Regions from separate parts of the Homo sapiens genome. Here all the other regions are linked to region 4. Evidence: promoter capture Hi-C in 16 types of primary human blood cells and fetal thymus (Javierre and others, 2016). All regions are on one chromosome and are shown on one strand. Each heading gives the region's core, a stretch centred on a gene start or on the middle of the fragment in contact. The rest is flanking DNA. Distances are from core to core; before and after follow the strand shown. Region 1 overlaps MYO5A (myosin VA). Region 2 overlaps DMXL2 (Dmx like 2). Region 3 overlaps LOC105370816 (a long non-coding RNA gene). Region 4 holds the start of MAPK6 (mitogen-activated protein kinase 6). Region 5 holds the start of MYO5C (myosin VC).

What was found. The method cuts DNA at HindIII sites, captures the fragments that hold promoters and counts their contacts. A CHiCAGO score of 5 or more calls a contact.
Region 1: a contact is called between a fragment that was not itself captured here and the fragment with the promoter of MAPK6 in region 4, in 1 of 17 cell types (naive CD4 T cells). The highest score is 5.6, in naive CD4 T cells.
Region 2: a contact is called between a fragment that was not itself captured here and the fragment with the promoter of MAPK6 in region 4, in 1 of 17 cell types (monocytes). The highest score is 6.9, in monocytes.
Region 3: a contact is called between a fragment that was not itself captured here and the fragment with the promoter of MAPK6 in region 4, in 1 of 17 cell types (erythroblasts). The highest score is 5.3, in erythroblasts.
Region 5: a contact is called between the fragment with the promoter of MYO5C here and the fragment with the promoter of MAPK6 in region 4, in 2 of 17 cell types (total B cells and naive B cells). The highest score is 7.1, in total B cells.

The regions. Positions count from the first base shown.
Region 1 is chr15:52,329,069-52,334,361 of GRCh38, forward strand. MYO5A (myosin VA) reads right to left here. Exons shown (of 42, transcript NM_001382347.1): 35 at 1,285-1,431. Among named protein-coding and RNA genes, the nearest start is that of MYO5C, 36 kb to the left of the region's middle. RefSeq lists an enhancer at 2,680-2,809. The HindIII fragment of the contact is 884 bases long and covers 2,508-3,391 here.
Region 2 is chr15:51,616,091-51,621,960 of GRCh38, forward strand. The region is part of intron 1 of DMXL2 (Dmx like 2); the gene reads right to left. Among named protein-coding and RNA genes, the nearest start is that of DMXL2, 3.7 kb to the right of the region's middle. RefSeq lists an enhancer at 5,819-5,870. The HindIII fragment of the contact is 2,315 bases long and covers 2,250-4,564 here.
Region 3 is chr15:51,643,598-51,649,158 of GRCh38, forward strand. All of the region lies in intron 2 of LOC105370816 (a long non-coding RNA gene), which reads right to left. Among named protein-coding and RNA genes, the nearest start is that of DMXL2, 24 kb to the left of the region's middle. The HindIII fragment of the contact is 8,710 bases long and covers 1-5,561 here.
Region 4 is chr15:52,017,185-52,023,250 of GRCh38, forward strand. MAPK6 (mitogen-activated protein kinase 6) reads left to right here and starts at 2,035. Exons shown (of 6, transcript NM_002748.4): 1 at 2,035-2,192. MAPK6-DT (MAPK6 divergent transcript) reads right to left here and starts at 1,911. Exons shown (of 2, transcript NR_156732.1): 1 at 1,515-1,911. RefSeq lists enhancers at 1,636-1,705, 3,046-3,095 and silencers at 1,876-1,985, 2,286-2,795. The HindIII fragment of the contact is 8,244 bases long and covers 1-2,957 here.
Region 5 is chr15:52,291,923-52,297,306 of GRCh38, forward strand. MYO5C (myosin VC) reads right to left here and starts at 3,882. Exons shown (of 41, transcript NM_018728.4): 1 at 3,688-3,882. The coding sequence starts at 3,714. It overlaps LOC105370819 (a long non-coding RNA gene), which reads left to right and starts at 2,962. Exons shown (of 4, transcript XR_932250.3): 1 at 2,962-3,289. RefSeq lists enhancers at 1,012-1,061, 1,935-2,104 and a silencer at 3,546-3,705. The HindIII fragment of the contact is 736 bases long and covers 3,182-3,917 here.

The DNA of each region.
Region 1 (5,293 bases), core at 1,700-4,199, 310 kb after region 4:
GAATGTAAACTCTGTAAGACTGGGTACTTCACTTTGCTCATTACCTAGAAAATGCTTGGCACATGATAAGAGTTCATTAAACATTTGCTGAATTGATAAATCTGTTAATTCTTTGCTGAATTGATAAATCTGTTAATTCTATGCTTAAAAACCAGTGGCTCCTTAACATTTTTGCTAAATGAAATTCATGTTGAAACTTAAGCACCTGTGCAACTATATATAGTACTAAGTTTAATGCCAGGAACATTCCATCAGGTATAAGTGCCAATCACACTGCTGTCACCCTGGCACCTGGCGGGAGGAATGCTGTGCAAAGGCTGAAAGGAGAGGTTTTTAGGATTTTCACTTCACAACTTACGGTGTGTACACTCTAATCATTTACCACCACCCTCTAAAAAGTTTTCTTGCAAAGCCAGCAGGCTCAGACCCAATCTTAAAGGCAGTGTGCTGCCCTGAAATGCTTCTTCCACTCTCATCTCATTTATTCTGTCCATTCCTTCCTTTGTTAGAATCTTTTCCTTTTTTTGTTTCTTCCCTATTATTACACTGCCGTCCTTGACCTATTTAGTTGCAAACCTTTCTAGGGGAGTAAGGAAAAACTGAAATTCAGGAACCTAAACGGCCTAGAGCAGTTGTGCTCAACTGTGGTTACACTTGAGAATCCCTTAAGAAGCTTTTTATTATTTTTGAGAAAGACTCTTGCTGTGTAGCCCAGGGTGGAGTGCAGTGGTATAATCACAGCTCACTGTAGTCTTGAACTCCTGGGCTTACATGATCCTCCCATCTCAGCCTTTTGAGCAGCTAGGACTACAGGCATGTACCACCTCGCCTGGGTAATTTTTTTTTTTTTTTTTTTTTTTTTTGGAGAGATGCGGTCTTGCTATTTTCCCGAGGCTGGCCTTGAGGGTTTTTTCTTTTTCTTTTTTTTTTTTTTAAAGTACTAGACATTGCCAGGCTCTTCTCTCTAGAGATTTTGATTTAACTGGGCAAGAGGGAGAGAGATACATCAGTATGGTTCAAAGCTTCCAGGTGATTCTAATGTGCAGCCAGGGCTGAGAAGACCTGATCTTGAGCAATCCTTGTAGGTGGGTCTGAGGCATGTGTCCCTGCAGTTGGACTGAAAGTGCTTGGTGTGGTCAGAACACTACTGCAGCACTAGAATACATGGTATCTGATGATGACTAATGAAACCTACGCTGAATATCTCAAAAATTAGTGACTAGTTTTTCCCACCATTAACCCATGTGCCAGAAGGAACTTTTATCCAATGCAGAAAATACTTGCCCAGAATCAGGTTCTTAACAAGTTTTTGCTCATCCTCCTTCTTGTATTCCAGCATCCCTTGGAAATCCTTTTCTTTCCTGGGAATGTTGACTGGTCGGATGGGTTCATCAATGATCTGTCCTGGGGATATGTTCTCCATCTGGCCCACTTTATGAGAAGTAAGAAAGGAGGAGAAAATGTTTTCCATATAAAAAACATGAGAGGTCTCCAAGTTCCTATAATTTTGAATGCATTCTACAACAACCGAAACTTGCCATATTTGCCACTTAATTGCCTTCTCTTAAAATAATTTTTTTCTGTTAAAATTGGGTGAACAGATGGCAAAATTATATGGTCATCTTACTCTGAAAGCCACTCCTGCCTAACTGTAAATTAACATCAAATAACCTTACATGACTCAAAACTTTTTTTTATGTAATAAGGCTTACTTTTTAATAAGATTAAATGTCCAAAAAGTAAGTGGTTTAACAGATTTGTTAATTAATTGATACTAATCAGAAATGGTTAAACATATTTTGACTTTAATTCACAGGAGGAACAATCAATATCCTACAAAGGGGCAGAAGGAGCAGAAACAATTCCCCCTTGCTCTTGGCTCAATGACTTTAGCCATTAAAAGCAAAAGAACATTTACTTTAAATGTATCATTACAATCAATTCAAAACACATACAGATAGCTGGTAGAAGAGTGTTTCTTCATACCACTTGGTCCAAAATGTATTATTTTTCACAAAGGCCTCATATGGCAAAGACCTAATTTTCTCCTGCCATCCTCATTCCCAGAGAAATCATGAACAGATAAACTATCTCTATGTAGTATGATTTCCTAAATGTTATTATTTTTTATTTCTTTTTAATATAATGTTAAAAATTCTACTTATAAAGTTGCAATCAATGAAGTACAACCACTGGTTTACAATGCTTTCAGATGTTAAAAATAGTCACTATTGTCAAGGGCAGCAGCTAGAGAATTATGCTAAAGGTTAAAAAAAAAAGTCTCCAATTTCATCTCAAAATTGAGACTTGAGTGGGAAATCCAACAAAAAGTAAAGGGACATATGAGTTACCACAGCCACTGTGGAGATACACGCTAGTAACCAGGTTTTTTATCCTTTTATCTACAGGGAGGGAGAGTGGTTAAGAGATTTGTTTAAGGGCAGATTAAGTTTGAGTTCTGAGATTGCTGTCAAACAAAATGCAGATCAGATGCAAAAACATTAGAAAGCTTAATATTGCTGACTCCACGAGGTGTCAGTAGTGCTTCTTGTGTCACTCTGGGTAATTTCCTGGGTTAGTTCTGAGAAGCCAGTCCCACAGGAAGAGGTTATCACAGAGAACATCAGTACCTGCCAGTGCTCTTGCTTATGTGGCATGGAGCCTGGTGACACACCGTCCACCTCATGCTGCAGCAGCACACACTGGGACTATCAGCGCTGAAAATCTGGTTTAGGTGAAGTCACCACCATCCAGCAACACTATGATATCTAAAGAGTGGTCAGATTGTGATTGGACAGATCAGGGCTACGGCCATCTCCCATAATCTAGTTTTTCATATGCATGATCCAGTATGAAAGCCACGGGACTAACTCTAAAGTATATTCTTCCATGCAAGAGAAAAGGAGACTCAAACTGTTTGGTTTTACATAATTTCTGGTGTCAGTTTAAACACAACACCACAAGGACCTCTGAAGCAGCACACAGTGGCCTCTACAGATCATAAACCTGCAGCTGCATGTAAAAAACAAAATTATAAAACCCCTGCCATCTATGCCACTAGTAACTTTTAAGCCGCATGTACAATTCCAAAAGGGGAAACTGGGAGAAAACAAGTTCAACATACTAGGTTTATCAATAAATGCACATATTTGGACTCCATGTAACCCAAAGAGCATATTTTAAACCCACTGATTTATCAAATCTATGATGCTATCGGTTATGAAATACAGTATTTTATGTAACACTAAAAAAATTGCCAACTAAACTATAACCCATCAACAATTGTAAGATACACCCCAATTTCAGAGATGTTGAAATGGGAAACACTGCATCTCAGAATTTGTGAAATACAATGGATATTTTTACTAAGAAAGTTTATGTTTTAAAAGGAAGCTTCACCTTCCTTTTGCAAAATCTCTAACCAGGATATTTTTGGTACTGTATAAAAATGTCAGATAGAATGTGCCATACTCTCACTAAAAACTTTCTCTCTGCCTCTGAATTCTCCCTAGGGACTTAAGTCTTTGCAAAGCTCACAAATGAAATTTAGATGTCAGTTCAACATAACCTTGATTGATTTTGCAATATTATCTACTAATTAAAATAAAATGTTGGCCGGGCACAGTGACTCACACCTATAATCAGAGCACTTTGGGAGGCCAAGGCAGGCAGATCACCTGAGTTCAGGAGTTCAAGACCACCCTGACCAACATGGAGAAACCCCATCTCTACTAAAAATACAAAAAATTAGCCGGGCATGGTGGTACATGCCTGTAATCCCAGCTACTTGGGAGGCTGAGGCAGGAGAATCGCTTGAACCTGGGAGGCAGAGGTTGCAGTGAGCCGAGATCACGCCACTGCACTGCAGCCTGAGTGATGAAAGCCAAACTCCATCTCAATAAATAAATAAATAAAGAGGCAACTAGCTAAGCCTTTTGCCCTTCCACCTTCTGCCATGTAAGAACACAGAGTTCGTCCCCTTCAGAGGATCCAGCAACAAGGCACCTGCCATCTCGGAAGCAGAAACCAGACCCTCTGAACTTGCCAGTGTCTTGACCCTTCAGAACTGTGAGAAATAAATTTCTGTTCTTTATAAATCACCCAGTCTCAAGTACTTTGTTATAGCAGCACAAAGGGACTGAGGAGCCCAATGATCCATTCTTCTAGGAAGACCTGAAAAAAGACTCTAGTTTCATTTTCTAGATTCTTTATAAACTTGAGGGAACCTTTCTGTCTTCAAAAAGGAAAGAAAATTGGAAAGTTTTAAAAAAATTTACTTTTGGCACCAGGAAGATCTTGATCTCAAGTTTGAGACAATCAGATGAATTCCTAATAAGTAGAAGATTTCTGTGGGAAAATTTGACACAAAGGAGAGAAATCAGTGGCCCTTAGAAGGTATGTGTTCTAGTCCTGCCATCTCACCTGCTGCAACCATGGGTCACTTACAGGCCTTAGTTTTTTCCTCTTATGAAATAACTAATTGATTTCTAGAATCCTTTCAGGTCTTAATTTCTTGATTCCATGAAAATTAAGATGGGTGAAAATATAGCACAAAGCAGATCAAATTTTGAAACACTCTCCATTTAGCTATATAGTTTCTGCCAAAAATTATATATGCTAGCATTTTTTTTAAAAGTCTGTTGGCTTTTTAAAAAGCCTCCTTAATTAAATGTAGCTTGTAGGAGGAGGCAAGAGTTGTGCTATTTTAAACCAAAAGGATTTAAGTGTGTTGCAATACATTTAAAGAAAAGTATAAGACAACGTTTAGTTATTAGAAGGTGCCTGTATTTTCTGTGTAACAGGCAGATACGAGGATGAAAAGTGTCACCTTGATTCTCTTTATTTGGGGTAGAAGCAGGTACACTGCACTCAGCAAGTGCCCAAGTCACATAAATCTATTTCATTTCATCCTCTAGATATGTATCACTTAACTCAAAATGTAACTCTTCTTAAGAACTATTATAATGCCTTTTTTGTTTGATCTATGAATTGCTATTCTCAAATGCTACTTATGGCTTTACAGCTGTCTGGATAGTTTAAATGATGAGGTTGATTTCTGATTGACAATGGCTTAAGATTAGTAATATCTTAAAATAGTCTAACCCATCTCTTCAACTAAAAAATATACATATCAAAGAAAACTAATAAAAATTATGTAAAATAATGAATGGCTTTTCTGTTTATCAAAATTTACTAAAGTATGGCAAAGGAATCATTAGGAGTTGAACAAAAAAAGAATCTCACATGTTAATACACTTAAAATCTGTTTTTTTCAAACAAATACTCTGCTGTC
Region 2 (5,870 bases), core at 2,157-4,656, 400 kb before region 4:
TTTTTAGAAGACAGTGGACCTAAAGGAACATCTCTCCAATGATAATCCATCTAAGAGGGTATTATTTATTCCCCTAAAATCACTCCCACCAAATTACCATGTATATTATTTAGAGGGGCCTAACTCTGTTTTCTGTATCTGAAAGAGATAAATGATAACCATTACATTTTTTAGGTGTTCAGGACTAGGGGTAGATAGCATTAAAGGAAGCCTCAGGAATCATGAAATGAGAGGATTTGAGAGTAAAACTTGCAGGCAAACGAAAAAAAAAGAAATTTAAGAAAACAAAAACCCACACACACAAAAATAAGAAGTGCAGGCAACTGGTTTCATATTTACATCAAATTCCAGGATTACATGAGCTATCTTTAAGAGAGAGTGAATATAGTCATGTCACCTTTGTTAAGATGTACTTGTCCCTCAATACCAAGTTACATCATGGATCAGGGTTTCAGAGCACTAACATAATGCAAAAGGATTCTACAAACTCGAAAGGACTGAAAACCCTAAAACTTCTACTGAAATATTTGGCTTCCAAATTTGTTTTAAAAAATTACTGACAAATGGCCGGGTGCAGTGGCTCATGCCTATAATCCCAATACCTTGGGAGGCTGAGGCAGGAGGATCACTTGAGGTCAAGAGTTCAAGCCAGCCTGGCCAACATCGTGAAATCCTGTCTCTACTAAAAATACAAAAATTAGCCTGGCATGGTGGCACGCACCTGTAATTCCAGCTACTCAGGAGGCTGAGGCAGGAGAATCGCTTGAACCTAGGAGATGGAGGTTGTGGTGAGCAGAGGTTGCACCACTGCACTCCAGCCTGGGTGACAGAGTGAGACTCCATCTAAAAAAAAAAAAAAAAAAAAAAAAACTGACAAGCTAGAGAAGTCTGACTAAATCTGAATTTTAGATATTCTATATTATATCCCATTTTAAGTACTGCCTTGGTTTCACAGAAGGAAATTAAATTGGTCAGGCATGACTTGTTTTTCTACTGTGCCATTATGGTTGTCACCCAACATCCTGTGCTCTTTCAGATAATTAAATACTGAGACTCTGATTTGTTCTAAAAATTTACCAAGATCCAAGTTAAGATAATCTGATTATAATTTCTAAAGTAATATTTTAAATAGCCCAAATCCTAAGAACAGAAACTAAAATAAAGGCATTGCACGGGAAAAGGAAAGCTGCGAAAGGAGAACCTAAACACCATCACACTGGTCCCATCTCCCACCCAATACTGTACTATGACAGTCGCAGGCAACTATCATCTGCCAGGTGCCAAGGACCAAAACCTAATCAAGAGGCTTCTCCTCAGCTGTAAGCCCAAAGACTCATTCCTAGACCCACTACTTCATAAATGCTCTGAATGGCCTATCTACTGAGCCAGAAAGGAGGTCAGACTCCCCGACTGTGAGGTCTGATCAAATCTTGTAAATACAAGTGAGATCTGATCAAGTCTTGTAAATACAAGTGAGAAGCAATATACGATAAAGACTCCAGACCTACAACTTCAACACAACCACTTTATGTTTCTAGTCCATTTTCTCTTTTGACCCCTGAAAATCTCTAGAGAAGTCCATATAATTTTCATTCGTGGTCTAAATACTTAAAGAATATCTTTAAGAACTTCTTTTACAGATCAAAGACCTAAACATGTTTAAGTGATTTCACCAACACCATACAAGTAGTTGGTCTCTGACCTCCCATTTTTGGGGAAGACATTATTCAGAACCTTACCAGAGTTTCTGAGTAGTTGCTAGGAGTCTTCTTGCTACAAGCAAGAAGGCTAATTAACAATCTACGCAGGGACATAAGAACTTATAAACCCTATATTCACTTACTGGTTGACACTAAGCCCAAGCCCACAAGGTTTTAAATGTATCCGTTTAAACAAACAAGAAGCTACACTCCAAGAACAAAAAGGCCAATTTCTCTTAGAAAACAAGTCCATTCTAAATTCTTGACTTCTGTCTTTCACTTTCCTCTCAGCACAGGTTAACACATTAATAACCAGCCAGTACAGAAGCATGTTTCTAACCAACCCCTTGATTCCCCTGGCCAAAAGTTCTCTTAGTCTTCCTGAATTCCCACTTAAATGCTGGTAATATTGCACAGCTGGCCTACTGTGGTTAGGTATGTGTCTTTTACTCTCGTATTAGACTACCAGGTTCCTACACTTCTTCAATAAACTCCCTGAAATCAAGACTATGTCTTGTAATTCTTTTTTTTTTTTTTTAATACCCACAAAGCTTAGCACACCTATGTGTTCAACATTTGCTAAATGTATAAACTGGTTGATCATTTTCAAGGTTTGGTGTTACCATAACTCTAGGACTGAAATTTTATTCTACAATAGAGTTAAGACATATCTAAATGCCATAAAAGAGGTTATACAACATTATTTTCTAATTTTTAAATGAATGGTTTTCCATTTATTTCCAACCTTTTGTTGGTATTTTAATTTAAAAAAAAAATTGAATGTCAGAATACCAGGTACGTTTTCCTGAAAAGCTACAGGTAATGTTTGCATATTATATTTTTTCAACATTCTAAGAGTGTCTGTTATTTAATGAAGAAGTCCTGTGATTAAAAAGTAACTTTTGCAAAGAAAACAGTCACTCAATAATTTATCCTTCGTATTATGCCATTCCTTTGCTTCTGTTGTTCTTATCTTTCCAAACCTTACTCTTCCATAAAACCTCTTCTTGTTTTCCCAACTACAATCTCTTCCATCTGCCTTATGTTATAATTATATAAATCATTTTAATCTCTGCCAGTATATTATAAATTCCCTAAGAGTGCAAATGACTTACTAATTTTTGTAAACTTTGATCAATGTGTTGAAATCATGTCACACTGGAATAATAGTAACTGCCCCTATACATCTCAAAATAGTCTGCAAGCCTTAAGGCCAAATGAATTTTTAATTTAAAAAATCATCACGTATGATCATTATTTCAATTAATATTTTAATATGTGCAGTAAAGTTTAAAAAATAGCCAAGGACTATCTTTCAGAAAAGTAATAACATAAATAATGAGAAATTTACAATATCTGTTGCATAAACCCTCAAAACATTCACTGAAGGGTAGTAAGAAATGTCTTAAAGGCAAAATAAAGTATAATAAAGCTCATACACGGGAGAAGATCATCTCTTTGAACTACCAGAGATTTGACTTATTGCAGGATAACATTTCGAAAACCTAGATCTTACACTGAAAAGAACAAAATTGTTCAAAAGGTGATGTTTTAAAATGTGATATCTACAGCTACATTTACGAAATCACAATCGAATGTTTAAGGAAACAGCTGTATACTGCCTAAACACAAGTGAAAAGCATCATAGCTTACGTGATACCACTAAAACCACAGACATCAGCTGAGATTGTCCACTACAGACTGCAGTACCATGTCAATATTGCACAAATTGGGACATCACGACATCAAGTAGTCATTCACAGCCAACCAATCACGCCACCCACCATGCACAGCAAAATATATAACACACATTTCTTTCAATTATTACACTGTCATAAACTCAAAATCCTTTTAGAACAATTCTGTTCTTCAAAGATGTATCAATTTTAGACTCTGAAATAAAGTATGTATTGTATTTTGAAAAGGTTCTCAGGCTACCATGAAACACAACATCAGCTAAGAATCATGAGTTAGTTGCAAGACAGTAGTTCCTTCTACACTATGTCTGGGAGGCCTTCCATCCATCCACTAACCCACCTACGCACCCACACACCCTCTCCAGAGCAGGCACTCTGATATTAAGAAGGAAATACTACCAAGAAAAGCCCACACAATGAGAAGTCACAAGACCTTCATTCCAAGTCCTGGCTGGTCCCCCTTTTAATCATCTGATCCAGAACTAAAGTTTCTTCATCTGATTGCTCTAAAATCAAGTGACAGGCTCCATGAAGAGGAGCTTGCTTTTTATTTTTACTATTATATTACTTTATTTTATTTTACTATTATTACTATTTATTATTCCTATATTTACAAACATAGGAACTTAAGTATTTGTTAGTTGATTATATATAGACTGCTTGAAAGCAGCTTGTTTTTTGTTTTGTTTTGTTTTGTTTTTCAATCTGTTTTTCACAAAGCCCAAGAGATCATTTCTAGTTCATGGCAAAATTAAAACTGGATCAGTGCGCTCAAAACTAAGGTAGTTAAATGAGATGGTGTGCAAAATGGGTTTGTATTTACATTTGTCAAAAGACCAAAATAACAGTGTCACAGGCAGGCATCCTAAACCACGTAAATTTTGAGTCGAATTTGGAAACCCAAAAGGACTGTCTTGTTGCAACATAAAAATGCAGTTTAGAGTAAGAAGATCAGTATGTAACAGAGGGGCCAAAGTGAGGAGTACATATAATTAAAAATAAAGTCAAAGATGGAGAATACTTGACAAGTTTACATTTCCTAACACAGCTATTAAAAACAATTACATATTCTTAAGCCAAGAGTAATATAGTAAAATGACACTTGAAGAAAATTATCCTAGCAGCGGTGTGGAGGATGAAGAAGTTATCGGACATGACAGTTTTGAAAGCTTTTATATTAATACCAATAAGATTGTAAAATAAGGTGGTGGTTAAGGATATGAAAAGGAGTAAATCTGGTAGACAGTGCAGAGTCAACTAGACTTCGTGAAACGCTGAATTAGGGAAGTGCAAGAAGATTTGAAAATGACTCTAAGCATCTGGTCACAAGTGGCCTACAGCATAACCACACCTGCACAGCACTAACAGTTCTTACACAGGCTTTTCCAGGCTGCATCTGAACCCGTTTATTTAGTTCTACATACCAGACCTGCCGTGAGACAGCACTCCACTTTAGATGGAAGCAGAAAACTACCACCACCATTCTAGCAGGAAAATATAACCAAAGATTCCAGCTTTGTTTCTTGATGAAAGAGGCCCACTCTTCTAACCCTGAGGAACTTCCTATCTGCACTACTGGGGAACAGGGAAATTTCTTCTCTCTATCCCCAAAAACCAAGATTCTCCACACACTTGAAGACAAAGCTCAGCTCTATATGAATATTTTAAGTCACATGTACATAAAACACAGATGACAAAAGGGGTCGTTCTAAACTGGAGCTAGGCCAAGTGGATTACACTAAAAAATTAAAATGGCTAAAAAGCAATCTTCTGGGGTTAATGTATCACAAAACGTCAAAAAATAAATTCTGTTCCAGAATGCACTGCTACATAATGATTCTGCAGTTTTGCTGAAGCTTTATTTTCCGCAGTTTTAAAAACACTGTTGGAAAGCAGACATCAAAGGGTTTTCCTTGTCTAAAAAGCATACCATTACGGAATTTCCAGTTTTATCAAGAAGAACAGTTTACAAAATATATTTAATAAAGGTCTGGCTGCCTACAGTTCCTTATAAGGAAGACCATGTATAAATTTCATTCTTTAAAAAAGAACTCAATTTATGGGAGTCTATCTATGAGTAAACGAAGCTCCAAGGCTTGGTTTAAACATTTCCACTCTCAAAAAGGACTGATGAGTCCAATCTCCTTGAGAAACATGTCTACTTCATCTAGCTTTTAAGGAGATTCTAAAACGTTATGTATACATACACTTTTCTCAAACAAGCACTGTTGTAAATTTTTCACATTGCCTTACTATATTAAAAAAAAGGCTACCTTACAGATTAAAATATTATCTAGGAGGATTACCAAACTACGACCTCCTGATAAATGAGACAGCTCTCCAAGCCACTGTGACTCTAACCTTTCCATTCTAAATCTTTCGGGCGCGGAGGATGAATTTTTCTATCTTTTTGTTGGAATTAAGATCCTGCATTATCAGGAGATACAGAGTCAGGCTTAAAGCCACAGACTCC
Region 3 (5,561 bases), core at 1,161-3,660, 370 kb before region 4:
AGCTAATTTTTGTATTTTTAGTGGAGATGGGGTTTCACCATGTTGGTCAGGATGGTCTCTAACTCCTGATGTCAGGTGATCCACCTGCCTCAGTCTCCCAAAGTGCTGGGATTACAGGCGTGAGCCACTGCACCCGGCTATTACCTATTTTCTAACATTACCTCTATGTAGTTGGAACATTTTTGATGATTTTTTAAATAATATAAATACACAAAGACATTTTGGGTTTTTTTGTTTTTGTTTTTTGGGCTTTTTTTTTTTTTTTTTTTAGACGGAGTCTTGCTCTGTTACCGTGCAGTGGCATGATCTTGGCTCACTGCAACCTCAGCCTCCTGAGTTCAAGTGATCCTCCTGCCTCAGCCTCCCGAATAGTTGGCATTACAGGTATGCACCACCAAAACCAGCTAATTTTTGTATTTTTAGTAGAGAGGGGGTTTCACCACGTTGGCCAGGCTGGTCTCAACCTCCTTATGTCAGGTGATCCACCTGCCTTGGCCTCCCAAAGTGCTGGGATTAGAGGCGTGAGCCACCATGCCCGGCCACAGAAAGATATTTTGAACAGAAAGACAGTACAGTTATATCCTTCAACCCCCCACTTCTCACCTTTCACTACCTTCTTATCCAACTATAAAGCATGGTATTTCAGAGCTAGTTTTTAAGGAAGAAATTGTTGAAGTTAGTCAAAGACGAAGTATGAACAATTAAAGACAATGATGTACCCCCAAAAGCCCACAAGATAGAGGTTCCAAAAATGAAATGATAAAAATGAACATGTAATGGGTAAGATTAATTATCTACCCACAAAGATCATTTACAGTCAGCAGTAAGGTCTAAATGGGTGCCTGTGTGTCATCTCCAGTGAGCACAATTCTATTGGCATGTCTATAGCTGTAACCTAGTTTGGTGCCTAAGAGGAAAGGGGTGTTTCCAGTGGAAGGAACAATGAGCCTGTACTAATCAAACCACCTTCATAGATAATTTGGCTTCCCTATTATATGTGTAAGGAAAGAATATATTGATGCAGCTGTCTTTTGTCATTACAAATGAATAAATAAGCAGTTTCTTGTGAATTTGATGTGTGAATTGATCCTTCTGAACTCAGTCAGTCAGTCGGCAGAAAAAAATCAAGTGCCCATGGAGCACTCTACTGAGGTTCACAAAATACTGCCCTGGAAAATCAATCCAAGAGGGGCTGGCTCCTGTTAATGAAGATGAGGAGGATGAGACTGCTGATAATGTTGATGATGATAGCTACTATGTGTCGGGTGCTGTGTTAAGTGCTTTACAAAAATTTCCCTGTGTAATTGCCATAGCAATCCCTCTTACAGATTAGAAAAAATGGGGTTTGGAAAGGTTAAGAAACTTGCCTAAGGTGACACATCTGTGAGCTAAGATTCAAACCAGATCTAAATGGGAAGCAAAACTACTTGATCACTGTTCTTGATTGCTTACCTCAAAAGAAGAGATCTTCTTTGGATTCTTAATGAACTTGCCTAGGACGTTTCCTTTCAATTCCATGAAAAAGTAAATACATTTTATGACTCCAACTTGCCTCTTAATAAGAAATGCCAGAAGGTTTAATTCAGGCAAATAATGTATTAATTTTCTAAAAAGAATGTTGTGGGTACCAAAAACTACAAACTAGTAAACCTGGAAAAATCTTTAATGGAGAATAAAACACAATTTGTGGCAATTTAAAAAAGAAATATATTTATCAGGAGCCAACAAGGATTCACCAAGAGCAAGTCATGTCAAATTTATTTAGTCTAGTTTTCAACAGCAAAACTAATGCCATAGACATCTTTTATTTTCTTTCCGTGAAAAATATGACAAAATCCCTACTGATTATCACACCAAAATATTATGCTGACCAAGGCCCCCACAGGCCTCTATAAAACGGCAGATCCCTTGGCAAATTTACCATTGATGAGACTCTAACTTCAGCCTGGCCAACTCAGAAATTTAATTTCCTCATGCTTACAAAGCCCACAAGAAACTAATGACTAAAACCAGCCACTTTTTATTGAAAAGTCATACTATATTGAAATGTATTTTACATATAGAAAGAAACACAAATCTTTAGTGAACAGCTTGGAGAATTCTCACAAATAAATATATATATACTGGTATAACCATCAATCATTCCAGAAAAGTTCCTCATCCCCCTTTCTGGCCAATACCTCCACCTCAATAGCTTTCTCGTTTCTACCACCAGGGATTAGTTTTACCTGATCTTGAGCTTTACATACAGGGGATTTTACACTATGCATCCTTTTGTGTCTAGCTTCTTATACTCTACACTATATTTTTGAAATTCATTTACATTGTTACGTGTATCAGCATTTTGTTTGTTTGTTTTTTTTTTTACTGCTAAGCAGTACTCCATTGTATGAATATAGTTTATGAATTTGGGTGATAGACATTGCAACAAAGCACCATTTTATTTAGACATGATAATATTAATCTTAGGCGTTTCCCTTTTTAAGGATATGCTTGCATATCACAGCTTTTGGGTTTTAGTTGAATTATCTGAAATCCCCCTGTACCTCCATTTCCAGTTCTTGCACGAACGACTTCGATATTACCCTGGCCTAATGGGTGACCTGCAGGATTTATCCCAGATGTCTGGATTAATGGTGTTCTGGCCACCTGGAGGAGTCACAAGAGTCAGTCCTCCTCTCTGCCTTGGTCTGAAAGGTGTGGCTGAAGACACAGTATAATTGTCAAATCTATAGATGGCCAGAATAGCTGATGTGAAAGCTAACAGAATCAAAATTTATAAGAATTTAAAGCAGACTGAAGCACAAAATCAAACCAACAATATAGACATTGAGAACTAGATATAGGTTCAGAAAACATCACTCACAAGTACAGTTTTGGAGTAATCTGGTTTGCCAAAATTTCAATTTGAATACACAGGTTTATAAAAATGACTGCATTAAAATAAGCATTTTTAAATCCTACTCTGCATTGATTCAGACTGTAACTGGGAAACAATTTTCAATTCTGGCCACCACAGTTTAAGAAAACTTATAATTCTGGTAAGTATATTCACAGCGAGATGACCAGTACTAATTCATTCATTCAACAAGTATTTGAGCATTTACTTTGTGCTGGGCACTGTCATGCTGATGGGGGTATAGCAGCAAGGAAAACGACTAAGGCCCTGCCTCATGGTACTTATATTCTAGAAGGAATACAGAAAATGAACAAATAAAAATATAATATGTTAGGGCCCAGGAAGTTCAATGAAGAAAAATAAAGCCAGGTAAAGTAATAGAAGAGAAGGGAAGGGCTTTTGGGAGGAAGTGGCCAAAGCAGACCTCTCCAAACAGATGACATTTGAACAAAGACCTGAACGATGTAAGGCAGGGTTCAGCAAACTATGAACAGTGGGCCAAATTTGACTGCACACCTGTTTTTGTGTGGCTCGAGAGCTAAGAATGGTTTTTATATTTTTAAAATAGTTAACAAAAAAATTTTTTAGAGAATAATACTTTTTGACATGGGAAAATTATATGCAATTCAAATTTCAGCATCCAAAAATAAAGTTTTATTGGGACACATCCGCACTCATTTATTTACTTATTCTCCATGGCTGCTCTTGCATTATCACAGCAGATTTGAGACCATATGGCCCACAAAGCCTAAAATATTTACCATCTGGCTCTTTATGCAAAATGATTGTTGACCCCTGATATAAGGGAGCAAGCCCTACCATTATCTAAGGGGAAAACGCCCTGGAATAGATAATGGCAAGAGTAAAGGCCCTGAGTCAGGCCTGTGGTTGGCTTGTGATCAACGAACTGGAAGGAAGCCAGTGTGGCTGGATGGCAGGGAGAGAGGGTGAGACTAGTAGGAAATGGCAGGAAGTGAAATCAGAAAGGGAACTTCAGACCAGATCTGCTTGGGGTAAGGATTTTGACTTAAGTGACACAGAAAGCCATTTAAGGGGTTTGAAAAAGGAATGACATAGTGTGACAGCTGGCTGGAACATGGCTGGATGGGGAAAAAAATACATCTATTTTCTCTAAGCATCAGCTGCAATTTAACATTTCAGTCATAAATATAGACAACAAAACACAATTGTATTTAGCAGTACCTGTGACTTTGTCACCAATGAATATCACTTTTTTTTTTTTTTTGAGATGGAGTCTTGCTCTATCGCCCAGGCTGGAGTGCAGTGGCGTGATCTCAGCTCACTGCAACCTCTGCCTCCTGGGTTCAAGCGATTCTTATGCCTCAGCCTCCAGAATAGCTGGGATTACAGGCGCCCGCCACTACGCCCGCCTAATTTTTTTGTATTTTTAGTAGAGACGGGGTTTTACCATGTTGGACAGGCTGGTCTCAAACTCCTGACCTTAAGGGAACTGCCTGCTTCGGCCTCCCAAAGTGTTGGGATTACAGGCGTGAGCCTCTGCACACTTTTTTATAGATAATGATTATTGTAATTATCTTAAAATATCATTTATGAATAGATCTATTCAGAAATTATTAGACCTTGTACTATAGCTTGTTATTAAATGAATTAATAAAGAAGTATGTATGTGTATTCAGAGTGAACAGGCAACCTACAGAATGGGAGAAAATTTTTGCAATCTACCATCTGACAAAGAGCTAATATCCAGAATCTACAAAGAACTTAAACAAATTTACAAGAAGAAAACAAACAACCCCATCAAAAAGTGGGCAAAGGGTATGAACAGACACTTCTCAAAAGAAGACATTTATGCAGCCAACAGACACATGGAAAAATGCTCATCATCACTGGTCATCAGAGAAATGCAAATCAAAACCACAATGAGATACCATCTCATGCCAGTTAGAATGGCGATCATTAAAAAGTCAGGAAACAACAGATGCTGGAGAGGATGTGGAGAAATAGGAACACTTTTACACTGTTTGTGGGAGTATAAATTAGTTCAACCATTGTGGAAGACAGTGTGGCAATTCCTGAAGGATCTAGAACTACAAATACCATTTGACCCAGCAATCCCATTACTGGGATTGGTATAGGTATACCTGTACCTATACCTATACCAATACCTATACCAATACCTATACCTATAGGTATAGGTATATACCTATAGGATTATAAATCATGCTACTATAAAGACACATGCACACGTATGTTTATTGCGGCACTATTCACAATAGCAAAAACTTGGAACTAACCCAAATGTCCATCAATGATAGGCTGGATTAAGAAAAATGTGGCACATATACACCATGGAATACTATGCAGCTATAAAAAAGGACGAGTTCATGTCCTTTGCAGGGACATGGATGAAGCTGGAAACCATCATTCCCAGCAAACTATCACAAAGACAGAAAACCAAACGTTGCATGTTCTCACTCATAGGTGGGAACTGAACAATAAGAACACTTGGACACAGGGTGGGGAACATCACACACTGGGGCCTGTTGGGGGATGGGGGGCTGGGGGAGGGACAGCATTAGGAGAAATACCTAATGTAAATGATGAGTTGATGGGTGCAGCAAACCAACATGGCACATGTAAACAAACCTGCACGTTGTGCACATCTACCCTAGAACTTAAA
Region 4 (6,066 bases), core at 785-3,284:
CTGTTTATTTCACCTGGGTGCAGGCGGGCTGAGTCTGAAAAAGGAGTCAGCAAAGGGTGGTGGATTATCATTAGTTCTTACAGGTTTTGGGATAGGCAGTGGAGTTAAGAGCAATGGTTTGGGGGCAGGGGGTGGATCTCACAAAGTACATTCTCAAGGGTGGGGAGAGTTACAAGGAATCTTCTTAAGGATGGGGGAGATTATAAAGAACCTTCTTAAGGGTGGGGGAGATTACAAAGTACACTGATCAGTTAGGTTGGGGCAGAAATAAATCACAATGATGGAATGTCATCAGTTAAGGCTATTTTCATTTTTTTTGTGGATCTTCAGTTGCTTCAGGTCATCTGGATGTATATGTGCAGGTCACTGGGGATACGATGGCTTAGCTTGGGCTCAGAGGCCTGACACCCTTTTGAAATGCTACAAAGATTCTGTCAATTTAGTGGTCTCCCTTACTATTGTAAGCCAACTTTGCATTATCCACAGGAAGTCAGCAGTGACACTGGATTAAATGCTCCTTGAGGGAAGGCACAGTGCTTGGTATTTATTCTCCCACCTTCTCTGGGTGATCAGACATTGATGGAAAAGGAAGGTAAACGAGTTCTCAAAGAGTGAGAGGAAAAATGTCCTGAGGATCAGAGGAGAGCCTAGAGCAGAGGCAGTGGGGCTGAAGGTACGAGCTCTCGTTGCAGAAGCTGGAAATTCTGCGGTTGGAACAAGTCTCCCCTTTCTCTTGGTTTTTTTCACTCATTACCTCTTCTTCACACCTGGTACTCAGCTGACGTTGTTTTAAATATTAAAAAATATAAAGCATTCAAGCTCACCCCAACCACTTAACTTCATTACTCTGTGATTTTTTTTTTTGAGACAGAGTTTCGCCCTTTCGCCCAGGCTGGAGTGTCCTGGCGCGATCTCGGCTCACTGCAACCCCCCGCGGGGTTCAAGCTATTCTCCTGCCTCAGCCTCCCGAGTAGCTGGGATTACAGGTGTGAGCCACCACACCCGGCTACTTTTTGTATTTTTAGTGGAGACGGGGCTTTCACCATGTTGGCCATGCTGGTCTCGAACTCCTGGCCTCAGGTGATCTGCCCGTCTCGGCCTCCCAAAGTGCTAGGATTACAGGCGTGAACCACCACGCCTGGCCCTTTGTGATCTTTTTGAAGTGGTCTTTGCCTCTTTCTTGAAGATGCCCATAATAATGACTAGAAGGGCTATTCTATGTCTGGTTCTCAGCAAGATGGTGATGAAGTCATTGAAAAAATATGCTGACCTGCGTCTCTAATTTCATAAATACTTAAATTTCACATAAACACTGAAAAGGCTCCTTGGACTCAATAAGCCATGATAAGTAATGTAAGTTTGCTTTTAGCCAAGTGGGCCCAAGAAGGCACCCATCCACCTTTCTACGTTTCATAGTGCATCCCTTCCCAAATTCAAATTGTCCTATCCCAGTTCCTGCAACAAGCCAGGTACTCTGGCCTCCCAGTCTTTGCTCACAGAAACACCCTCCCCACCTCCTGGTTATATCCGCTCCTCCGGGATCCAGCTGAAAGGCCACCTTGGCGACCACTCCTGAAAGCCTTCCTCCATACTCTGGCAGAATGAATGACCTTAGTATTGGCCTCTAACGCGTCTGTCTTGTGCTCGGGCTGTCGCCTTCCAGCCAATCCATCTTAAGGTCCACCCTTCCTGGAGACTGAGGCCTCTTCCTCTCGGATTGCCCAGTGCCTTGCACGTAGTAGGTGCTTAGTAAACGCTGGCACTGGGTTTGGTCACTTTGTTCCCTTAATGCCAGGGCAGGTAGTAGAGCAAACGGCCCCAGCTGTCTTCCTCCCTGCCCGCCCGCAGGCAAAGCCCCCAGGAGACGCCGGACGAGCCGCGTGCCTTTCCCACCGCCTCCGCGGCGCGCGCAGCCCAGTCACGGGCGCTGGAAATTCCGGCGCGTGCGGGTGCGCTGGGCAGGGCGGGGGCGGGAGAACCCGTGGAGTGAGCCTGTGACGTGAGGGGGCGTGGCACCGCGAAGCCCCGCCCCCTCTTCCTCGCCCTCTCTCGCGGGTCGGGGTTACATGGCGGCGACTGCGGCAAAGCGAGAGCCTCGGAGACGCCGCTGCCGCCAGCACAGCCGGAGACCTGAGCCGACACTGGGGGCAGTCCGCGAGCCCCGCACTCTCTCGATGAGTCGGAGAAGTCCCGTGAGTGTGTGTGTGTACGTGTGCGGGGTGCGCCGGCGGGGCGGCTCGGGAGGGCGCCGCGGCGGGCCCGGCGGCGGCGGCGGCGGCGGCGACGGCGGAGCCGGCTCCCTCCTCCATTGTGTGTGACCCTCCGGCGGCTGCCGCTCAACAAAGGCGTTTTTGTTCGGTCTGCCGCCCGCCCCCTGCTCGCCCGCCTGCCCGCCCGCTCGGGCCTGGCCGGCGCGTCCCCGCGCGGGCGGGCGGGCGGCGGGCTGGGGTCCCCGCGTGGGGCCGGCCAGGCGGCCAGCGCGCCCCTCCCACCCGGCACGCCCCTCGCCGGTCGCCCTGCCAGGCCGCGCCCGCTCCCTGGCCCCGCACGCCTGCTGCCGTCCCGCCGCCTGCGCCTGGCTCCGCGGGTTCGAAACCCAGCCGGACCGGACCGGAGGGCGGGCGAGCGAGGGGCGGCGGCCCGGGGAACATGAGGTGGCGTGGAGTCTCGCCTTACTGGCACGCTGCCTTTCGAAATGCTCCCGCGTCTCCTCCCCCATCCCACCCGGTGACTCGGCCTCAGCTGACTCCGGCCGGGCAAAGTCTCCAGTGGCGTAGCGCGCAGCGCTCACCCGGCTCGTCTCAGAGCCCTGAAGTCCGCCCAAGTTTTGAGTCTTGCCATGAATGAGGTACTGAAAACTCGGAGACGAAATTCCTAATTTCCTCCCTCGGCCCTACAGTCTTTCCTTAGCTTCTTTCGGGACCTTAAGTGGTGGTCTGTAAAAGTGCCCAAATGAAAGCTTGTTTTGTCGGTTCACCAAAAAGGGCCTTGTCACTTTGCTGTGCATTTTAGTCCGCCTTGTGAGTTGTGTCGAAAAGTAAAGGTGTTTTGGCATCCTTTTGTTTCTTGGCGAGTGTAGGACCCAACCGGTTTAGGTGTTAGGGGGATCTCTGTGCAGCGGGAGCTTCTTGATTCCTTTCCTGTTTTATTTTTTCTTTTGCTTGTTCATTGGAAAAGGTCCAGTGAAAGGGACTGGTGAGTTGGAATTAGAAGCCTACTTGTATTAACGGCAGAATTCGTGTTCATTGCTAAAGATGCAGTCTCAGTAATGACTTTTTTTTTTTTAACGGATACAGATGATTTGTCAAGGGGAAAAATTAACACGCCATACAATGAAGAGCAAGCAGCTTCAGAGTAATTTTCTGATGGCTGATTCTTCTAGCCTGTCTCTTACAGTTCCAATTGCACATGTCCTCCCTCTTTAACGCTGGAAAACTGAGATGGAAAGAATGATCTGACCAGAAGAATGTAGGGTCCAAACAGGGCCTGGCCCTGAAATCAGGAATTTCTTCATAGAAATATCAGATTTTAATGTTTAAAAAATAATTTTGAATTGGGTGAAAGGAACTTTGTCTTTAGATAGTAGTTGTTCAAACATGTTTATGAAGTGTTTGCTATGTGCCAGGGATTGTAAAGTCATTTCACATATGTTACATCATTTATTAAGAATTGCCTTAAGCTTGTAAAATTATTCATTGATGTCCTGAATTCAGTAATTGCAGTTAATCTAGAAAATATGCCAGATTTGAGCAGAACATATTTGATCACCTAGGTATTACTGTTGAGAAGAAAACACTGGAAAATGGAGACTATTTTAGAAAAAACTTCGTATATGAGGATATTCTGGAATTCATTTATTTGCAAAAGAGGATTAGAAGTAGTCGTTGGCTACTTTCTGTTATTAAAAAATCCAGAGAAGAGTGATTTGAAGTCAGTTAATTTTGTAATAAAAAAATGCACACATTCTAAAGACTAATGTTAGCACTAAAAGTGTTGCAGTGCTTTACATAAATTCATTTAAAGCATCGTGAGAATCATAACTGACAAAATAGTAAGGTTTGCTGACTCAGGGTACTTTGCTGAAGGGGATGGGGGTCGGGTAGGAGGAAGCTTACAAGTGCTGCTGCAAGTTTTGAGTTGGATGATGACTCATGCTGCCCACGGACTGCTACGTGGCTTTTTTTTTTTTTTTTTTTAAATACACTGTATTTTTTTCTAAATGATAGGCTAAAATGTTCCTGTCCACATTGAAATTCTCTCTCATTTTTTCTGAAGAGGAACAGCAGTTTCTCTAAAAAAGTAATGGCTTCTTAAATTGCATTTTAAAAGGATATCATATACCCTACAGGTGGAATTGTGTAACATTTGCTGAGAGGAAAGGTAAAACCAATTTCTGGTCAGGTGCTGAAATTAAATGTTTGATACTAGCAGTTTTTTGGCTACTGCTGAGAGAGATTTGTTACAGGTTGTTTATAAAGGACAGATAGTACTTTTATGGTGTCGGTAGAAATTGACCTTATGTTTTTATTGGTTATGTGAAAGTTATCTTTATATTTAATATTTAATCAGATATGGCTCTGAATATGAAAGTTTCACTCAGAATTATTAAAACATAATTATATATTGTGCTTTGTGATTTATGTGAATTTTCTGTTTTAATAAAGACAATTTGAAATAGGTATTAGTCACTATTTTTCATGGTTTTTTTTTAAAGATAAGCTGAATGTACAGTTCTAAGTTGAAACTTGGTAATAAGATAAATCTTTTGACTGATTTTAAAACAGCCAACGTTTAGCAAGGTGGCTTAAAATAAGATTGAGAGGGGGAAAAAGATTGAGAATGGCAGTTTAAGAGTGGGGCTGGGTGCGTTGGCTCACACCTGTAATCCCGGCACTTTGGGAGCCTGAGGTGGAAGGATCGCTTGAGGCCAGGAGTTCAAGACCAGTCTGGGCAACATAACGAGACCCTGTCTCAATTTTTAAAATAAAAGAAAAAAAATTTCCCACCCCATCCTCTGGTTTTTCTGTGTATACTGTTTATTTTTCCAAAGGGATTTGAGGAGTTTGTGGACAGTAAAGTGTTTGTTGTTTTTGTGAGACAGGGTCTTGCTCTGTCACCCTGGCTGGAGTGTAGTGGTGCGATCACTGTTCACTGCAACCTCTACTTCCCGGGCTCAGGTGATCTTCCTGCCTCAGCCTCCGGAGGAGCTGGGACTACAGCTGTGTGCGACCATGCCTGGCTAGTTTTTCGTATTTTTTGTAGAGATGAATGTTCACAGTGTTGCCCAGGCTGTTCTTGAACTCCTGGGCTCAAGCAATCTGCCTGCCTCAGCCTTCCAGAGTGTTGGGATTACAGGTGTGAGCCCCTGCTCCCAGCCCATAAAATGTATTGTTAATGTGAATTAAATTTTTGGAACTATTTTGGAAGAGTATTGCATGATTTATACCTAGAGGTTTTTTTTTTACAAAGTTTAATTCAAACTTAAAAAAAATTTCCTACTAGAGGAAACATAAAAATACAAATATAAAAGTATTGAAAATTTTCAGAGCATCACATTACTTAGAGGTTTAACGTATTTTCGGCATTGTTTTCAAATATAGGTAATTAGCTGTAGTGCATAATTCAGAGTTTAAAAACAAACTGAGGCCGGGGGCAGTGGCTAACGCTTGTAATCCCAGCACTTTGGGAGGCTGAGGAGGCAGATCACGAGGTCAGGAAATCGAGACCATCCTGGCCAACATGGTGAAACCCCGTCTCTAATAAAATACAAAAATTAGCTGGGTGTGGTGGCACGTGCCTGTAATCCCAGCTACTCAGGAGGCTGAGGCAGGAGAATCGCTTGAACCCGGGAGGCAGAGGTTGCAGTGAGCCGAGATTGTGCCAGTGCACTCCAGCCTGGGTGACAGAGCGAGACTCCGTCTCAAAAAAAAAAAAAAAAAAAAAACCGAAAAACAAACAAAATAACTGGATATCTTAGCCTGCTTCCTGTCTCCAAGGTACTGCTTTATGAAATGCTGAGCCTTCTTACCACTGCTATCCAGTTCTTTGTTACATTTGAACCTTGTG
Region 5 (5,384 bases), core at 2,632-5,131, 280 kb after region 4:
TAGAGACGGGGTTTCACCGTGTTAGCCAGGATGGTCTCGACCTCCTGACCTCGTGATCCGCCCGCCTCGGCCTCCCAAAGTGCTGGGATTACAGGCGTGAGCCACCGCACCCGGCCGCATATTTTATATTTATCTTCATACAGTATATAAACTGTTGTGCCCCATTTTTCACATAACCATGTTTTCATGTTATGAACTCTTCAGAAATAGTACTTTTAATGGCTTCATGCTGTTTTACCATGTGAATCTTCCATAATTTACTTAACTTTACCCCTCTTGCTGGACACTGGGATTGGTTCCAATTTAGTTATTATAAGGAAAAATACAAATAAGCAGGTGTCAGGAGAGGTAGGTAGAAAGTGGATGAACTTCTCACAAGCCCACTGTGTGCGGGGAAAAGGTCAGATCCCTTGAAGAAGAGGAAGATAATAAAGGCGGTTGAACCAAGGTGGTGGTAGTGAGAGACACTAAGAACATAGGTTTTCAACTCCGGCTCCATCACTTGTATGTTACCTTAGCAACTTACCTGACCTGAGCCATTTCTAAAAGTGTGAGATCATCTAACACACAGAGTTGTTTATCCAGATTAAATGAGAGGCGGCACATGAAACTCTGAGGATGGCATCTAGCACATAGAGATAAAAATAACATCATCCATATCATCGTCTCCATGGTCCTAGCTATTTCTGTAAGCAAAAACGTTCAGTCATGCACACAGGTGCACATCAAACATTTATGAAGCTCCCACTGTCCCCTGCTCACTGAAAGCTCTTGGTCAATAGTGGAGACACAGAGTTCACGAGCTGTTACCAGGCAATATGGAAGGCACCGTGTGGAGGGGCTAGCTGCAGAGGCTTTCTCAGAAGAGGTCCTGCTCAAATTGAAGGTGGAAGGTGCAGGTGCCATGAGCAAAGGTGACAGACAGAGGCTCAGACAGGTGGAGTTCGTGTGCCAAGGCACGCAGTGGCAACGTGCAAGCAAGGCATTGAGGGAATGGCAAGGAGTCTGGCAGAGCATGAGCCAGGTAAGAGCAGGAAGGCAGGGAGAGAGGCAGGACCTCGTGGCTGGTCAGTGAGTCTGAAAGCAATGGGAGCCTCTAGAGGTGGTAGAGCAGAGAATGCCAGACCGGCTCTTCTTAAGAGAGATTTCAAATAGGGGAACTGCTGCTCTGAACATTTCTAAGGCATGGCACCTGTAGCTTTTCAAAAGAGATGGATGATTTTACACCTCACCTGGCAGCGATTGCTCCCCTCACCAAGACTTCTCCTGGAGTTCCCTCTTCCCTGTTCCCACAGGGTGGCTTCCAGCTCCCCTGTTAGCTCCTCCTCTGGATGGCTCCATCTCAGCCCTTCTGCTTCCTCTCACTCCTTGCACAGATGCATTCCCCGCTGGCCTGTCCCTCACCCTCTTCTCTGTCTGCCTTCTCCCACCTTGGTGAGACCCTCAGTGTCTTGTTGGCTTCAGTGACCACCTCTGGGCAGAAGACCCTCGGCAGGGCCCATCCCCTCCCTCTGACACCTCCCACCCTGCAAGGCACCTTCCCTTGGAAGCCCCCTCACCCCTTCAACCCCTGCAAATACAGAACTTGCCTGATGACTTTCTTAAGAAATATTTCCTCCTCATGCCACATCCTTAATTCACTCAAGGGCACCACCCTGCTGTCTCTCATACAGACTCTAACCTCAAATGTCATCCTTGGCTGGTCCCTTCAACCCCCACCCCACTCCCCAGTCCAGCCTCTCAGCCTCACCTGCCTCCACCCTCCATGGCCAACACTGCAGCTCTAATTCTTTTCCAACAGCTGGAATGACCTGAGAATTCAGCTACGTGACCCCGGCCTCTCTCCTCCACAGCCCAAGGGCGCTGCTGGCATACATAACAAATCTAACAGTCCTAACACACCACCCTTGATTCTGCCAGCCCCCACTCAAAACCCACACTGGGGAATAAAGCCCTGACCTCGCTCTCTGGCTGCCATGGCCCTCCCCTTCACACCTCCAGAACAGACAAAATGGGGGCTAACTGCCCACCAGGAAGGGAGGTGGCAGCCTAGGAACACAGGTGTCTACGTGGACACAAGGTCAGTGGGAATGGCCATCAGGCTGCGTCAGTCTCTGGGATTCTCAGATTCTCATTCCCTCCAAGCTTGTACCTTTAAACTCCTTCCTATCAGTTTTCTTACATTGTGCCTGGTACTTACTAGACATTTAATAAATATCTGAGGTTTGAGGCACCTAAAAATAGGGGTGCTTGCACCTGTGTGTTTCTGCTTCTGGAAATACTGTCACCTCAAATAGGTTCAGCAGCAGCATTTTTCTCTGTCCTCCAAAGTATCGTCGAAGACTAGTCCAAGACTTTTCTTTCACTTCCAGTAAACTGAAGGCTGAAGAAGCGCTGTTGGCTGTCTGAGGGCTCACAGTCTCACTGGTGAAAATATTCTAGAACAAAACTAGGGCAATTCAAACACTGTCCATTTAGAACTCCAGTTAATGGAGATGCAATAGAGGAGAAACTACAGTTCGGTTGCTTTGTGTCCGGACTGTTACTAAGTAATCAAAGTAGAAGAAAAACGTTTGCTTAAACCATTGAAACATGATTTTTTAAATAACTATCTTTTCTATCTACAGCAAAAGCATCTTTTAAAGTAGAAAGCTAGAGCATGTGTCCGGGGAAATGGATGGATTCTAGTTCCACTCGTCTGAATACTGAGGTCTCTAGATTTCCCCAACTGGTGTATAGGAGGATCAGGCTTTATGGCTATTCAAATGGATTTTTTTTTTCAAAAGTGCTAACACTGTCACACTCTTTATCCAAATAATTACCCAAGCCCATCTCAGAGGGTTTGGGACATATGTGGGAACGCTGCCCTTCCGAGGTAAGAGGTGGAGCCCCAGCCAGCAGAAAGGAAGCTTCTGAGGAATGCTCTAGTGTTTCCCAGAGTCAGGGTATATGAAAGGCGCTTTAGAAACTGTGGTGTTTGTACTGTTGCTAACAGTACAGATGTTAGGCAAAGAGCCTACGACTGCACCTCGTGGCCCCTGGGCTCCCCAAGCGCTTGGTGCCACTGCAGTGCCCTCAAGCCTGTGACCCAGGCTGCTTCAGCTTCTGATGAGCCTACATGCACGTTCACGCACTTTGAAGACACAGAATTCTAGAAAGCAGCCCGAACACTGCGGCCATAAGCTTCTATGCCAGCTCGTTCAAGGGGGTCCCAGGAGGGGCCAGGAGACTGGCCGGCGTCTCAGCTTCCTACGTCCGCATGGGCAACTCTGATTCCACCCGTGGTGTGGTAGGAAGGGACCGAGGCGCTCCAGTCCCGGGAGATGGGGACGCACGCGCGACCCCTGGGCACTGGGGATTCTAGGCCCCGAGGCCGGAGCGGCGGAGGGGGCGGCCCCTCCCACAGGGTCTTCCCACCCACAGGGCACCCAGGCGCAGCGGAGCCAGGAGGGGGCTTACCCGCGGGCAGGGACGGAGCACGCCGGGGCCCTGGAGGGGCGACGCTCGCTCGTGTCCCCGGTCCCCGTGGCCCCTCCGCGGCGCCTCCGCGGCCCCCAGCGCGCGCCCGCCCGCCCTGCCGTGTCAGGTGCGCAGGTGTGGCAGGTGTGGCCCGGGCGCCAGGTCGAGTCAGCGTTAGCAGGGCCGGCTCCCCCACAGCGCTCCCAGGAGCCCAGCGGACCCTCCTACCTGCGTGTACAGCTCGGCCACCGCCATGGGCAGGAGGGGCCGGGGCCAGGCCGGGGCTGCCGAACGTGCGAGGCTCGGGGGCTGGGCCTGCGCCGCAGAGGCCGGGCGCAGGAGAGACCGCCGCGGAAATCACCGCCGGGCCATCTTGCCCAAAGTTTTCCAACGGCCTCCTGTTCCCGTTCCCGAGTTGGCGGCGAGGGGAGGGGGCAGCGGCGGGATTGGTCCCTCCAAGCTTGGCCCGGCTAGTCGGCGCTGCCATTGGCCGGGGCCGGGCGGCTGCACCTGGCGGGAGCGCGGGTGGAGAAGGTTGGGGCCCGGGGCGCGCTGCCAGGCAGGAACAGATGCATCCGGAGGCTGCCCGGCCCGAGTGTTAGCTCCTCAAAGAGCAGAGGATACGACCATTTAAATGGAAGACCCAAGGGAATCAACGTACTGAACACAAAGAAATGTGTTAAGAGTCCAGCAAGGTCATCGTATTCAAAATCAAATACAAAAATAAGTAATGGTCCTTTATATGAGCATTGTCTATGCAATACAAGATATTTACAATATTAGTGAAAATATAAAGTATCCAGAGATTACACTCGCAAAAATGCCCTTGGCCTTTGTGGAGAAAATGTTTAAAATTCTCTTAAAGAGCTTAAAAGAAGGCCCAGGTAAACGGGAGACATGCCATTTTCCTGGCTGGGAATATTTAATATGGTCAAGGTGTCACTTCTACCCAAATCAATATATATGCCTAATATATTGGCGTCAGAATCCTACAGAACTTTTGGAGAATTGTACAATGATTCTATATTTCATATAGAATAAAAGCCCTGTATAACTAAGACAATTCTCAAAGAGGAGAGATTTGTCCTGCCATATATTTAGGGACATAACAAAGCAGTAGTCATTAAAACAGTGTGACACTTGCGTGAGAACGGATACGTGAGTAATGGAACATGCTGGAGCCCCCCAGCAGGGCCCTACATTATACGGTAGCCTTAAGGACCAGATAGGGAAATAAAATAATATTTATTAGATGGGCCCGTTATATGGAAAAACAATAAAAGCAGATCCGTGGCAAACACTGCATCCAAAAATAAGCTCCAGATGGATTCACGATTAAAACTTAAAACCGGGAAATTATTAGGAATAAAAGAGGGATAATATCTTTAAAATGTTGGGTTATAGTAGTTTCCATATAGAAGAATTGTTAATCGGTTAAAGAAAAGAAATCCAATTTTTAAAACTGACAAAAATTAATAGGCAATTCACAGATGGGGACACTTAAATGGCTTGTTAGCATACAAGGAGATGTCAACTTTAGCAGTAATCAGATAAATACAAATGAAAACAACAATGAGATATTGCTTTTTACCCATCATATTGGCAAAAACATTTAGGTTAGACAATCTCAGATACTGCCTAGGATGTGAGAAAATAAAAACTTGGCCGGGCGCGGTGGCTCACGCCTGTAATCCCAGCACTTTGGGAGGCCGAGGCGGGCGGATCACGAGGTCAGGAGATCGAGACCATCCTGGCTAACACGGTGAAACCCCGTCTCTACTAAAAATACAAAAAATTAGCCGGGCGAGGTGGCGGGCGCCTGTAGTCCCAGCTACTCGGGAGGCTGAGGCAGGAGAATGGCGTGAACCCCAGGGGGCGGAGCCTGCAGTGAGCCGAGATTGCGCCACTGCACTCCAGCCTGGGCG